Regions from separate parts of the Homo sapiens genome. Here region 1 is linked to region 2. The links are contacts of gene promoters, found by promoter capture Hi-C in blood cells and fetal thymus (Javierre and others, 2016). All regions are on one chromosome and are shown on one strand. The core of a region is centred on a gene start or on the middle of the fragment in contact, and the rest is flanking DNA. Distances in the headings are between cores, read along the strand shown. Region 1 holds the start of CENPU (centromere protein U). Region 2 holds the start of CCDC110 (coiled-coil domain containing 110).

What was found. The method cuts DNA at HindIII sites, captures the fragments that hold promoters and counts their contacts. A CHiCAGO score of 5 or more calls a contact.
Region 1: a contact is called between the fragment with the promoter of CENPU here and the fragment with the promoter of CCDC110 in region 2, in 2 of 17 cell types (non-activated CD4 T cells and total CD4 T cells). The highest score is 6.7, in non-activated CD4 T cells.

The regions. Positions count from the first base shown.
Region 1 is chr4:184,729,227-184,735,345 of GRCh38, reverse strand. It overlaps CENPU (centromere protein U), which reads left to right and starts at 1,250. Exons shown (of 13, transcript NM_024629.4): 1 at 1,250-1,330; 2 at 4,378-4,426. The coding sequence starts at 1,284. RefSeq lists a silencer at 1,244-1,303 and enhancers at 1,674-1,793, 944-1,810. The HindIII fragment of the contact is 4,927 bases long and covers 1-3,824 here.
Region 2 is chr4:185,469,248-185,475,316 of GRCh38, reverse strand. It overlaps CCDC110 (coiled-coil domain containing 110), which reads left to right and starts at 3,584. Exons shown (of 7, transcript NM_152775.4): 1 at 3,584-3,643; 2 at 4,268-4,372. The coding sequence starts at 3,634. It overlaps LOC105377590 (a long non-coding RNA gene), which reads right to left and starts at 3,886. Exons shown (of 2, transcript NR_133944.1): 1 at 3,557-3,886; 2 at 3,054-3,202. RefSeq lists a silencer at 3,370-3,999. The HindIII fragment of the contact is 5,122 bases long and covers 82-5,203 here.

The sequences.
Region 1 (6,119 bases), core at 1-2,500, 740 kb after region 2:
AGCAAAACTCCAACTCAAAAAAAAAAAAAAAAAAAAAAAAAGAACTTACTCATGTAACCAAATAGCACCTGCACCCCAATAATTTATGGAAAAATAAAATAAATAAAAAATAAAAGCAATAGCTTTAGTAAGAAAGGGCACTTGCAGCATACCTACCAAATATCATATAAAGTTTAGAAACATACAATAATCAATACATTATTTGGGGCTATATCAAGGTAGAAAACCACAGGAATGATACACATAAAATCAGAAGAGTGGTTATTCTTTGGAGGAGGAGGATACCATTCAGAGGGGTACCCAAGAGTTATATATAAAAATGATCCATATCCCCATGTAGTGCTGGTTACACGGATGTTTGTTTTTATCTTTACATTACACGTTATATTCTTTCATATGCATGAAACGTAATATTTTTGTCGTAGTAAAATATACATAACAAAATTTAGCATTTTAACCGTTTTTAACTTTACAGTATTGTGGCATTAAGTACCTTCACCTTGTGCATCCATCCACCACTATTTCCAGAACGTTTTCATCATCCCAAACTGCTTTTGGTATCATATCCAAGAAATCATACCAAGTCCAATGTTATGAAGTTTTTGCTCTGTTTTCTTCTAAGAGTTTTAATTTTAGCCTTTATAGTTAGGTCTTTGATTCATTTTGCGTTAATTTTTATACGCGGTGTAAGGTAAGGGTTCAATTACATTCTTCTGCATTACACATTTTTAAACACAAACAAAATAAAAGAACAAAAGGAACCCTGTCCATTTACAAATGAAGGTATTGGGATAGCGGTAAAGTAACATGCTAAGCTCAGACAGCTGATAAAGGCAGCAGGGGCTGGAAGCCAAATCCTGTAGGCCTGGAAAGACGACTGCGGCCTCAGCGACAACAGCTGCGAACACGGGTCTCCACCCACCCTCTTACCTGCCCACGACTCAGGGACACTAGCTCCTCCCCTTTCCCCACCCCACAAGGGGCCGTCCCACGTGGCTCCCGGGCTTTCTGGCGCCGGAAAACTGGCGATGCGGGTGGGCGCGAAAGCCCGGAAAACTTTGGCATGTTTTGGACCGTAGGTAACTGGTTGTGCGGCATGGACTCCAGCTCCGTTGCGCTGTAATAACCAGACCCAGTTTTCCCTCACGCTCCAGGCCAGGGAGGAGCCCGGGGGCCGCTCAGGAAGTCCTGCGCACGCGCGCGTGCTCGGCCCGGATTGGCTGTTCGGAGCGGCGAGGGGCTTGGCGGGAGCTTCCAGTCGCTCGAGAGCGGAGAGCGGCACCATGGCCCCGCGGGGGCGGCGGCGGCCGCGGCCTCACAGGTCTGAGGGGTAAGTACTGCCGACCCTCGGGAGCGCGGGGCCGGAGACCAGCTTGAACTGCTTCCTCGCCTGCCGTGGTTTGCGCCTCCCGGCGCTGTTGGTGCTCCACTGTGGAGGTCGCCCGAGTGGCCAATCGCCCGGGTCCCCGGCTTCCTCCTCAGTCTAGTGGGGATAACAGTGATCCCACCTGCACGGGCCTGTCGGGGCCTAACACTGCCTGGCGGGTGGGAGAGACGTCAGCCAGTGTCGTGTCGTTTTGTGGGGAGGGGGAGTGCCGTCCAAAGTAGTGAGTCTCAAAGTGCTAGCTTGAAAGCAAAATATTCAGCAAATACGTATTGCCTGCGGTTTGCCAGACTTTGTTAGTGGAGTTTTATTCTCTGACTGGGAATCAGTTTTCTTATTTTGAAGACCCTGGTGTTTTCTTACTGCAAACCACAGACCGTAAACTGGAGCATAAATCCGGCTGGGGGACCGAGCTGCCGCTTGCGGTTCTCCAGGATGGCTCGAGCGGTTTTTGTTTACCAAAGAAAGCGAGCGTTTGGTCGGTTGCAAAACGCGCTCTAGAATGCTGGTCGCTGATTCGTTGGCGAATGGCCATCCAAGGCCCGGCCTGGATCTGGCGGGAAGGGTCTCGGCTTGCTGCAGACGGTGCACAAAGCCATACGCCAAGACGATCTGAAGAGAACAGGAGTTCCCCCGGGCCTGGGAAGGCTGCCTGGAGGAGGAGGTGCTGGTAGATGCGGGGTTAGGGTGGAAAAGCTGGAGCAGGACACCGCAGGTGGGTGGGGAAACCGAGACCAGACTTCTGTGGCCAGTGGAGGAGAATGAAGACTCCCCCAGTGCAAAAAAGGATTAGAAGAGAATGTCAGCCTTCAATGTCAGCTGAAAAGAGTTTATCTGAAAGGCTAGTGGTTTTTGTTGTCTTTTTTTATTTTTATCTTTTAACATTTTTGGGTTTGAGACTCATGAAATCTGTTCATGCCTCCTCCCAAAACACACTTACGCACATACAACAGAATTTTTTTTTTTTTTTTTTTTTGAGACGGAGTCTCACTCTGTGGCCCAGGCTGGAGTGCAGTGGCGCAATCTCCGCCTCCCAGGTTCAAGCGATTTTCCTGCCTCAGACTCCAGAGGAGCTGGGATTACAGGCGCTCGCCCCCACGTCCAGCTAATTTTTGTATTTTTAGTAAAGACGGGGTTTCACCATGTTGGCCAGGATGGTCTTGATTTCCTCACCTCGTGATCCGCCCTCCTGGGGTTCCCAAAGCGCTGAGATTACAGGCATGAGCCACCGCGCCTGGCCCAGAAATTTTACCTGTGGGTTGTCACAGAGGTTTCTGTCTCTCAGAAGCCCCACCTTGACTCCAGCGTAAGGCAAGGAGGAACCTTGACTTTTTTTCCCCCCCAAGAAAGGACAAGACAGCTCAAAGAGTTTAGGTTAAGAAGTTTATGTGGTCTAGTGTGTAGCTGGGTTTCTGTTACCTGGCTATGTGACCCTTGATAAGTCACTTAAATTTTCTGAATCCCGGAATCATCATCTATAAAATTGCCATAAAACCAATACTTGTCTTACCTGCTTCCTTAGGTTTCATGAATTAAATAAATAAATCGTGAACTTGTTAGAAATGCAGAATCCCAGACCTCACCCCAGAGGGACTGAATCAGACACTCCTGGGGTGGTGCCAAGCAACCTGTTCAACAAGCCCTCTTGAGAATTTTGATGACACTCAAGTCTGGGAACCACCGCTCTGAACAGTTTTCTAACTTTTTTTTTTTAACTGTGATTCACAGTAATGATGTTTTACATCACACTTAGTACACGTGTGCACACATCCACACATAAAACAAAAGGCTTGTGAACATAGTATATCCAGTGCAATGCTTCATTTTATATTTTCCTTTTTTATTGTTTGTTTTTTTAAAAATGCTGGCCTGGCAATCTTAAAAGACATTATAGGACAATTGATGTGATTTGGGTATGGACTGTAGATTAGATTATGGTATCAGTGTTAAATTTCTTGATTTTAGAAATTGTACCATGAATATGCAGTATAATGCCCTCTTAGGAAAGACATATTGTAGTATTTAGGGGTGGAAGTGCACAGTATCTCCAGACACACACACACACACACACACACACAGAGCACATGAGTAAAGGGCATACAGAAGGTCCTTGTGCTATGTTTGCAACTTTTCTGTGAGCTTGAAATTATATCAGATAAAAGGATACTAAAACATTGGTTTAGACTAAGCTGATTTTGCTGTCTACAAATGAGAAAAATATGGCTGCAATCTGCATGGCATATTTTAAAGTCTAATTATGTACTGTATTCTCCTGGAGTATCCCCCCCGTACCCTTGTACGATGCCTGGTTGGTGGAGGATAGTCTGTACATATTCACTGACTGCTGGCACTATTATTAGTAATAATGATATATAATCCTGCCACTGTTATTTCCCGTTTTTATTCTTGTCACCATTGTTACATTTGTTTTCTTGAAGCTTGTTGAAGATATATATACAACTTTATCATTTGAAGCTGTGGTCCAACTGAGAGAGTGTCAAGGGAGGTCGAGGGCAGGCCCTGGATTTGAACTGATGTAAATTTTAATGCAGGCTTGTCTCCCTCCTGGCTCCGTGTTGCTGTGGGCAAGCACACATCTGTAACATGGGATTCACTTCTACCTTATAGGACTGTTAGAATTAAATGAGAAAAGGACGTAGGAGAGCCAGGCACCGGATGGAGCAGGTGTCGGGGCTTAGCGTTAGCCTACCTCCCCTTTGTTCAGCTGTGCAGAGAAAGTCAATCACTGCTGATTGATTAAGGCCTCAGGGAAAAAGTTAACAGCAGGATTCCAACTTTTCCATGTCCCTGAGGGGGAGAGGTATGTTATTTTATACATTGGTGATAGGATTTGACCTATAAAAAATAAATTTGTGGAATATGGGTTCTTGTTTTTTTTTTTGGTAAAAATGCGCGGAAAGGGTCATAACTATGGTGTTTCCTCAGTTATTTTAACTATTTCCTAACTCTTGTGTTTTTTTGCTGTTTAATAGCGCAAGACGTTCAAAGAACACTTTAGAAAGAACACATTCCATGAAAGATGTAAGTTACCTTTTTGTGTTGTGGTTTTCTCAAAATTGACAGTACAAAATAACATTTTTTGGGTACCTCAGTTTTGTAGACTTCACTTGGCAAGTTCAATGTTTATTGTAGTGAAAAAGTGTGTTCATTTTCCTCACACTTTTTCCGGTATAGTGGATAAAATGACTTTTGTTAATGTTTTAGAATTTCCTTTATTTCTGAGCCGAGTTTGGTTTTATTTTCGTTTAGATAATTGACTTCATGTAAAAATTGTACAGTGCTGTAAGCTTTTTTCACTTAAAGCCATTTCTCCTCATTGTACTTTTCAAGAATTGTTTTATGATTTCATGATACTCCACTTAGTTCACATTACAGGTTTACTTTTCTTTAGAGTCTTAGAATAAATGTATGTTAAAGGCATGTGCATTTCTTTAACGTTCTTGATAGCTAATTCCAGTTTTTTTTTCCAGTGGCTTGTGTGATTGACATTGTAATCTCACATTAACAGTGTATGACAGTGCCAGGCACCCCGGAAGGAGTTCCTTCTGCTTGTTCTGCCCTGGGCTTTCTCTGTCCTGCATAGTCCTTAACCCCAGCCTGCAGACGATAGCTCTCTTCCCCTCTGGGAAACCCTGGGATCCCCCTGCAGGGTTTTGCTCAGCGCTCTGCTCCCACCCCGGCATTACTTCACGGGTTCTTTGGGTGGATTTCTCTCAGCTGTCCTGCCTTGCCCCTGCCATTGGTAGCCAAAGTACAGTGTGCCTCGGAGGGATTTCTCTAAGCTCCAGCCTTAGCTGGAAGCCCAGAGTGCCTGGAATGGATTCAGCTTTCCTGTCCTTCCCTCTGCAAGGCAGTCCCTGGTGGAGGCCCCCTATGCCTTGGGAGGGGCTGGAAGACCTGCCAGCTCTCTCCACATTCCACCCCCAAGCACTCCAGGAATGATTCTTTCACTGGGGGCATCTGAATGGTCAAGTTTTTATATGGTTTGCCAATTTTATTTGACCTCCTTTATACCTTCCAGAATTTTCTTATTTTTGTATCTGTTAATAGTACCCTTCCACATTTTCTGGAACTACCATGAAAGTTTTTCTCATTTTATGTATGTTTTCATGTTTCATTAGATTTGGGGTAGCAGACTTCATGGGTGTATCAGTATATTGAACTCTAAACCCTGGTGTCCTTTAGTCAGGAGTTTTTACACATGTGTACCCTTAAAACTGTTTATGAACTTTTGGGTATATGGGCATATTTCCGGAGACAGGACCCATCACTTTCCCTAGGTCAGAGGTTTAGGCAAACTGGCCCATGGGCCAAATCTAGCCTGCCACCTGTTTTTGTATATCCCTGCAAGCTAAGAATGGTTTTTACCTTTTTTAATGGTTGAAATAAAATAAAAAGACTATGTCATAATATGTGAACATGATATGAAATTCAAATTGCAGTGTTCAAAAGTCAAATTGTATTGGAACACAGCCATGCTCATTCTTTTCTGTGTGGTTACTGTCTGCATTCATGTGACAGTGGCTGAGTTAGTAGTCAAAACAGAAACCTTACGGCCTGCAAAGCCTAAAAGAATTTACTTTCTTGTCCTTTATAGAAAAAGTTTGCCAATCCATGCCTTAGGTTATCAAAAAATTCTATGTCCCCAAAAAGTGTTAGCTTGCTTCTTTCTTTTTATTTTAACTGAAACATTGTAATTGTACACATTTGTGGG
Region 2 (6,069 bases), core at 2,335-4,834:
GGCCGAGAAATTTTCATTTTATAGGCCATCTAAACACGCACTCACTGAGATGCCCAAACAATTTTTTTATTTTTAGAAGCTTGGCAAGTTCATCAAAGTTCACACACAATATAAACTAGACAACACATTCTACTATCTCTTTAAAATATACATTTTTTCTAATATTTGAGCTACAATAATTGAATCTTTTTCCACTGAAGTGTCAAGTTTTTTCAAAGAAGAACCACAGGAAAAAAAAATTTCAAAAGTGTTTATGGAATCCCACCCTAGACGGGGCTCTAGACCTGCCATTCACTGTCAGCCCCGTATGTGACCACTCTGCTTTCTCCTGGAGTAGGCCCTTCACCTGGGATTTCACTCATCCTCACTACTGGCTCACAGTTGTACAGATAAGGAAACTCCTTTTCAGAGAGGCCCATCATTCGGTCAGCCACGGAGTTCAAAATGCAGGTAGTTTCAAGCGCAGGTGAAAATGGTTTTAAGTGGCCATGGGTGATCAAATAAGATTTCTCCCTCAACATACATTTCACACTGCAGTGAATGTCCCTAAAGGGCTGTGACCACCTCCCACCCCCATTTTTTTAGAGACATGTCAATGCTCTAATTACCACTTCCAGATTCTCCCACCTCGAATACCAGGGTTGGCGCACGCAATGTTCATGTGAGGCCCTTCACGAGGGGGTTCATCTGAGAGGGTGATATTCAAATCATAGGCATCTTTATTATTGAAAACAGTTTTTAAAATATTATAACTGTTGGCTCCAAAGACAGCCTTTTTACATATTAATTGCAATAATTTTCTGACAAAATTTTTGTTTTAACTGAGAATATATATGTGATGTGCTTTACAAAAGAGAAATGAGTGTGATAATCAAAAGGCCTTATAGGACATCTAAAATAAAGTGTCCTTCTAACTAAAGAGCTGCTTTTCTGACTGATGAATGGATTAGGAAGTAGCTTAAAATGGAAGTAACTCTCTATTGAGATTAGTGCACTGGCTAAATCTGAGTTTGATGTTGTAGCATCTATCACCTGCTTTTTATATTCTACACTAAATGGTATGACTGAGTGCTCCCACAAAAATCCACAAGTAATTTCTATGTAATAACCGATATTAATTTGTCATCATAGTCCACAAATATTACATAGACAAATTAGAGTTATTACACATTATTACATAAATTATCAAATGATTAGATATTAATAATTAGCATTACATAAAATACAATATAGTAATTAATTGTGGAAACTTCAGTAGTATAAAAACAGACTTGCTAAAATGTAGTGGCTTTTTGTCATTCACCCTTTGAAGGAATGCAATTTATTTACAGTAGTAATTTCACAAACATATTGCTGAAAACTTGTGTAGCTCTCAGGAAAAAAATTAACTTTATCAATGAAGCAGCCTCATTGTGTGGGCTGACACCAAGGTTTGCTGTCTCACAGGGAGATCAAGGATGCAGACACACAAAGAGTGAGGTTAAGAGCCGAAATGTAATAGGCGACAAGAAAGGGAATAAGCTCTCCGCTACAGAAAGGGGTCCCCGGGTTGCCAATTCGCTGTGAAATATTTTTTATAGAATTTTATAGATGAGCTAATGGGGAGGCAGTCTGATCTACATAGGGCGTGAAAAACCAGTTAGGACCAGGTGTGCCATCTGCATAGGGCATGAATCTCTGGCAGCCCCCACCCCAATCTTTTACTACGCAGGTGGGTTCTCTGACTGAGCTTTTCCATATCGCCCATCTCTTTCTTACTGTACACGTGCTAACAAAAAAGGGGAGATGGAGATTCCATGGTGGACATGCCTGGCCCCCAGGTAGCCCTTTTCTATCAGCGCAGCTGCTGGCATCCACCCGCACGCTGCCCCCCAACCCCCTGCGCCCTGGTGTGCACGCTTCCAGCTTCCTGATCTATCTTTGCAAGGTTTGCAGGCTTTCAGGCTGCTCTTTGTTAGAAAAAAAAATGATTTCTTGAGCTGTTTTTTGTTAGAAGTTCTGCTGAAGACTCTTTTGCCCTATCTGCCTAAATAATTTCTATCTCCTGAATCATCAATATCAATCAGCAATGCAGACCATAAATTCTCAAAATTATAATTTATTAAAATTGTCTACAATGCCACAAGAAAGTCAAATCTTCTAGAGCCCATTTTTTTCTTTCTTTCTTTCTTTTTTTTTTTTTTTTTTTTGAGACAGAGTGTCGCTCTGTGGCCCAGGCTGGAGTGCAGTTGCACTATGTCGACTCACTGCAGCCTCTGCCTCCTGGGTTCAAGTGATTCTCCTGCCTCAGCCTCCCGAGTAGCTGGGATTACGAATGTACTCCACCATACCTGGCTAATTTTGGTATTTTTAGTAGAGACAAGGTTTCACCATGTTGGTCAGGCTGGTCTCGGACTCCTGACCTCAGGTGATCCACCCGCCTCGGCCTCCCAAAGTGCTGGGATTACAGGTGTGAGCCATCATGCCGGACCTAGAGCCCATTTCTTTTCTTTTTTTTTTTTTTGTTTGTTTTTTTTTGTTTTTTTGAGACGGAGTCTGGCTCTGTTGCCCAGGCTGGAGCACAGTGGCGCCATCTCGGCTCACTGCAACCTCCGCCTCCTGGGTTCAAGCGATTCTCCTGCCTCAGCCTCCTGAGTAGCTGAGATTACAGGCGCGTGCACTAGAGCCCATTTCTATAAGAAACAAATTAGAGGAAGTAAGCACTGAAACTATCATAAGAAGTTTCATTTCAATGAAAGCAAGCCATCATGTATTACTTATTATATATTATATGTTATTATATAGCAAATTATGATATCCTGGTGATTGTGATTTTGAATTTTAATTTTCTATGTGTGATGGTTTACTACAAAATAAATAATATATACTCGTTTAAAACTTTAAAGAGCACCATTTTCTGATGGGCAGGAGGATTAGCTGGGGGCACGCACCCAGTCCTTGGTTAAAGGAGGTCAGGTTTCCCGTGAACGCAACATCAATCCTGCACGTGATACACCAGGTGCGTAAAAATTAACATGCTTAGACAAAGGAAGCCCACCGTCGCTTCCCACAGCTTTCATGAGCATATTTTAATACATGTTTAGGTTAATTCATTATTGAAAAATAGGAGTCTTCTTTTCATTGCAGCAAACAAAAGTCCTTTCACAATATTGGTCATGGGCCGTTCAAATCCCCAAATGCTGAAACTCCTCTGAGGGATGCGCTGAAATGAGAGGACTAAGAATTAAAAAAAAAAAACAACAGCGATGAAGTGGAGATGTGGAAAGGCAAAGGGAAAGCTCTCAGGCGTGTGTCCGTCCCCGGGCGGTCCCTTTCTCCGCACCGCTTTGGTCCGGCGGGTACCGCAGCGAGTCCGAGTGTGAGCAAGCCCGTCCCGGACAGCCGCGCGCGTGTGCGGGGAGGCGCCCAGGTGGGCTGTCCCAGGCCAGGTTCCCAGGGAAGCTCTCGGGGAAGCGTCCGGAGTGAGGAGGGACCCACCGGGACCCCACCAGGGACCCCAGCCGAGCGCGCGCCGCCGAGGGTGGGGGTGGGGCCGGCGCCCCGGCCACCCGGTTACCTGGCGACAGGATGCCCTGCGCGGGGCGGCGGAGCGGGTGCGTGCGGCGGCGGTTGCGAGAGAGATGAGCCGCGGCGATGAGCCCGGGTAAGAGTTGGACGGGGCGGGGCTCCTAGGGGAGCCGCGGGAACGGAGGGCAGCAGAAGGGCATTCAGCAGGCGGCTCCCCGCTCGAAAACCCGGGACATCCCGGGTCCGCCCTTCTGCACTCGCCGCACATCTCCCGCTCGGCCCTAGGGCTGAGCACCCGCTGCGGCCCCCTGCGTCCGCTGTGGCTTACAGGCTGGCTACGTGGTCTGCCGCCGCCGCCCGCCCAGCGCGCCCTCGGGTGGCCGCTTGCGGAAAGCGCCGCGCCCCGCCCCAGGCCCGGCCTGATGCCGTCCCTCCGCCCCATCCCTCCGCCCCGCCCCAGCCTTCAGCCTTGACCCCGCCCCATTCCTCTGCCCCCACAGGTCCCGCCCAGTCTCTCCGCCCCATCCCATCCCTGCGCCCCGCCCCAGCCTTCAAACCCGCCCCCTCCTAATTCCCTCCGCCCCGCCCTCCCCGCCCTCCCCGCCCCCCCGCCCCAGCCTTCAGCCCCGCCCCCTCCTAATTCCCTCCGCCCCGCCCCAGCCGTTAGCCCTGCCCCGCCCCATCCCTCTGCCCCGCCCCCACCTTCAGCCCCGCCACGCCACGACCCGCGACAGAACAGCCCCGGACGGTTCTGTTACAGAAAAGCAGCACCGGGAAGAGGATGAAGTTGACTCCGTTCTCCTTTCAGCGTCCAAGATCCTAAATTCTTCGGAGGGGGTGAAGGAAAGTGGCTGCAGTGACACAGGTAAAATCGCCAGACCGTAAAAGGCTCCTTTAACTATACACAGGCGGCAGCATCTGGCCTGTGCCACCTGCTCACCTGGCGTGCTTCCCACGGCCGTGATGACACGGACAGCAGCCACCACGGCACTCGCGCTTTGTGCCAGTGCTGTTCTAAGCACGTAATGGATCAACTGTTTAATTCTCACAACACTTTTACGAGGTGGGTGCTACCACGATCCCCATTTTGCAGATAAGGAAACGGGCACAGAGAGGTTAACTCCCTAAGGTCACACAGGCAGCGAGGAATGGAGCGGGCATTCAGCAGGGCGGCTCCGGACTGCCTGTCTTCACCACCACGCTACGCTCCGTTGCTTCTCTGAATGCTAAGTAAGAATTGTTGAGTTTTTTGGACACACACTAAAACGATATGCAGTCAGCCCTCGGTATCTGGGAGTTCCGCATCCTTGGATTCAACCAACCACAGATGGAAAATATTCAGGGGGGAAAATTTTTAAAAATAACAGTACCACAATTTTTAAATGCAAATTTTGAACAGTATAACAGCCATTTACATAGCATTTACATTGTATAAGGTATTACAAGTAATCGAGAGATGATTTAAAGTATACAGCAGGATACACATAGAAGCTATGCAAATACTACCCCATTTTGTATTAGGGACTTGGGCATCTGCAGATTTTGCTATCCGCAGAGGCTCTGGAACCAATCCCCTGTGGATATCCAGGGAGGGGTGTATACCTTTTCTAAAGAAAACTACTTTTTATAGTAAATATTTACGGACTACAGGATATTATATGGGGAGGATGTTTGAAATAGCCACATAGCTAAAGCTTTCAAGCACCACATAAATTATGAATAAGATGGGGGTACCCAGCTAGGGGAATCTGAGGACATTGAAGGTGGAGTCCCAGGCGACTGACTACACGCCTCTCAGAGGAGCCTGCTGTGAGGGGACATGCCGGGGAAGGAGCAGAGCACGGGGCAGGAGAAGGGTCTAGACTGATGTGCCATGCCCGGACCCCCAGTTGCCCCTCTGTAGGATATGGGCAATCCTGATGCCAAAGTGCTGAACCACAAGAGGACTGAGGTTGGGACAGGATTTCTGCACCTCCACCATGCAAGATCTTCACAAAAAGCCTTGTCAGGGCCCGGAAAGAAGAGACTAGAGCAGCCACACCTCAGTAGACAGAAGACACCCGGGTGCCCAGGCACTACCAGGATGAGCAACACCCCAGTGGAGGCCAGCAGGACAGGCACTGGCCAGTCCCCTCTCCGCCCTCCTGCCTCCACCCTTGAGATATGCAGGTTTCCCTGGGCAACCAGGAGGGGCAAAGGGGCCCCCTGAACGAAGGAGAAAGAGTCCTCACAGAGAGTTGAGACATTGAGGTAGCTCCGTATTTACCTCAAAGAGAGCATGTAAGGTCAGAAGAAATAGAAGTACCTTAATTTGGCAAGATCACATGTTTTTTGACATGAATGAGGCTTAGGGTTCTGGAGAAAGATGCCAACATTTATAGAAAATAGTTACATGCAAAATAGCACATGTACATGTTTAAGAGTTACAGTCTTTCTTGCCAGAACACAGTGTTTACAGGTCTGGGGTTGACACAGGACAGGTTCTTAATAAACACCAGTTATCTTGAGTCAGGGGCCACCCAGGAATTTCCTGCCTGCAACTATAGGCAAAACTAGGAGGTA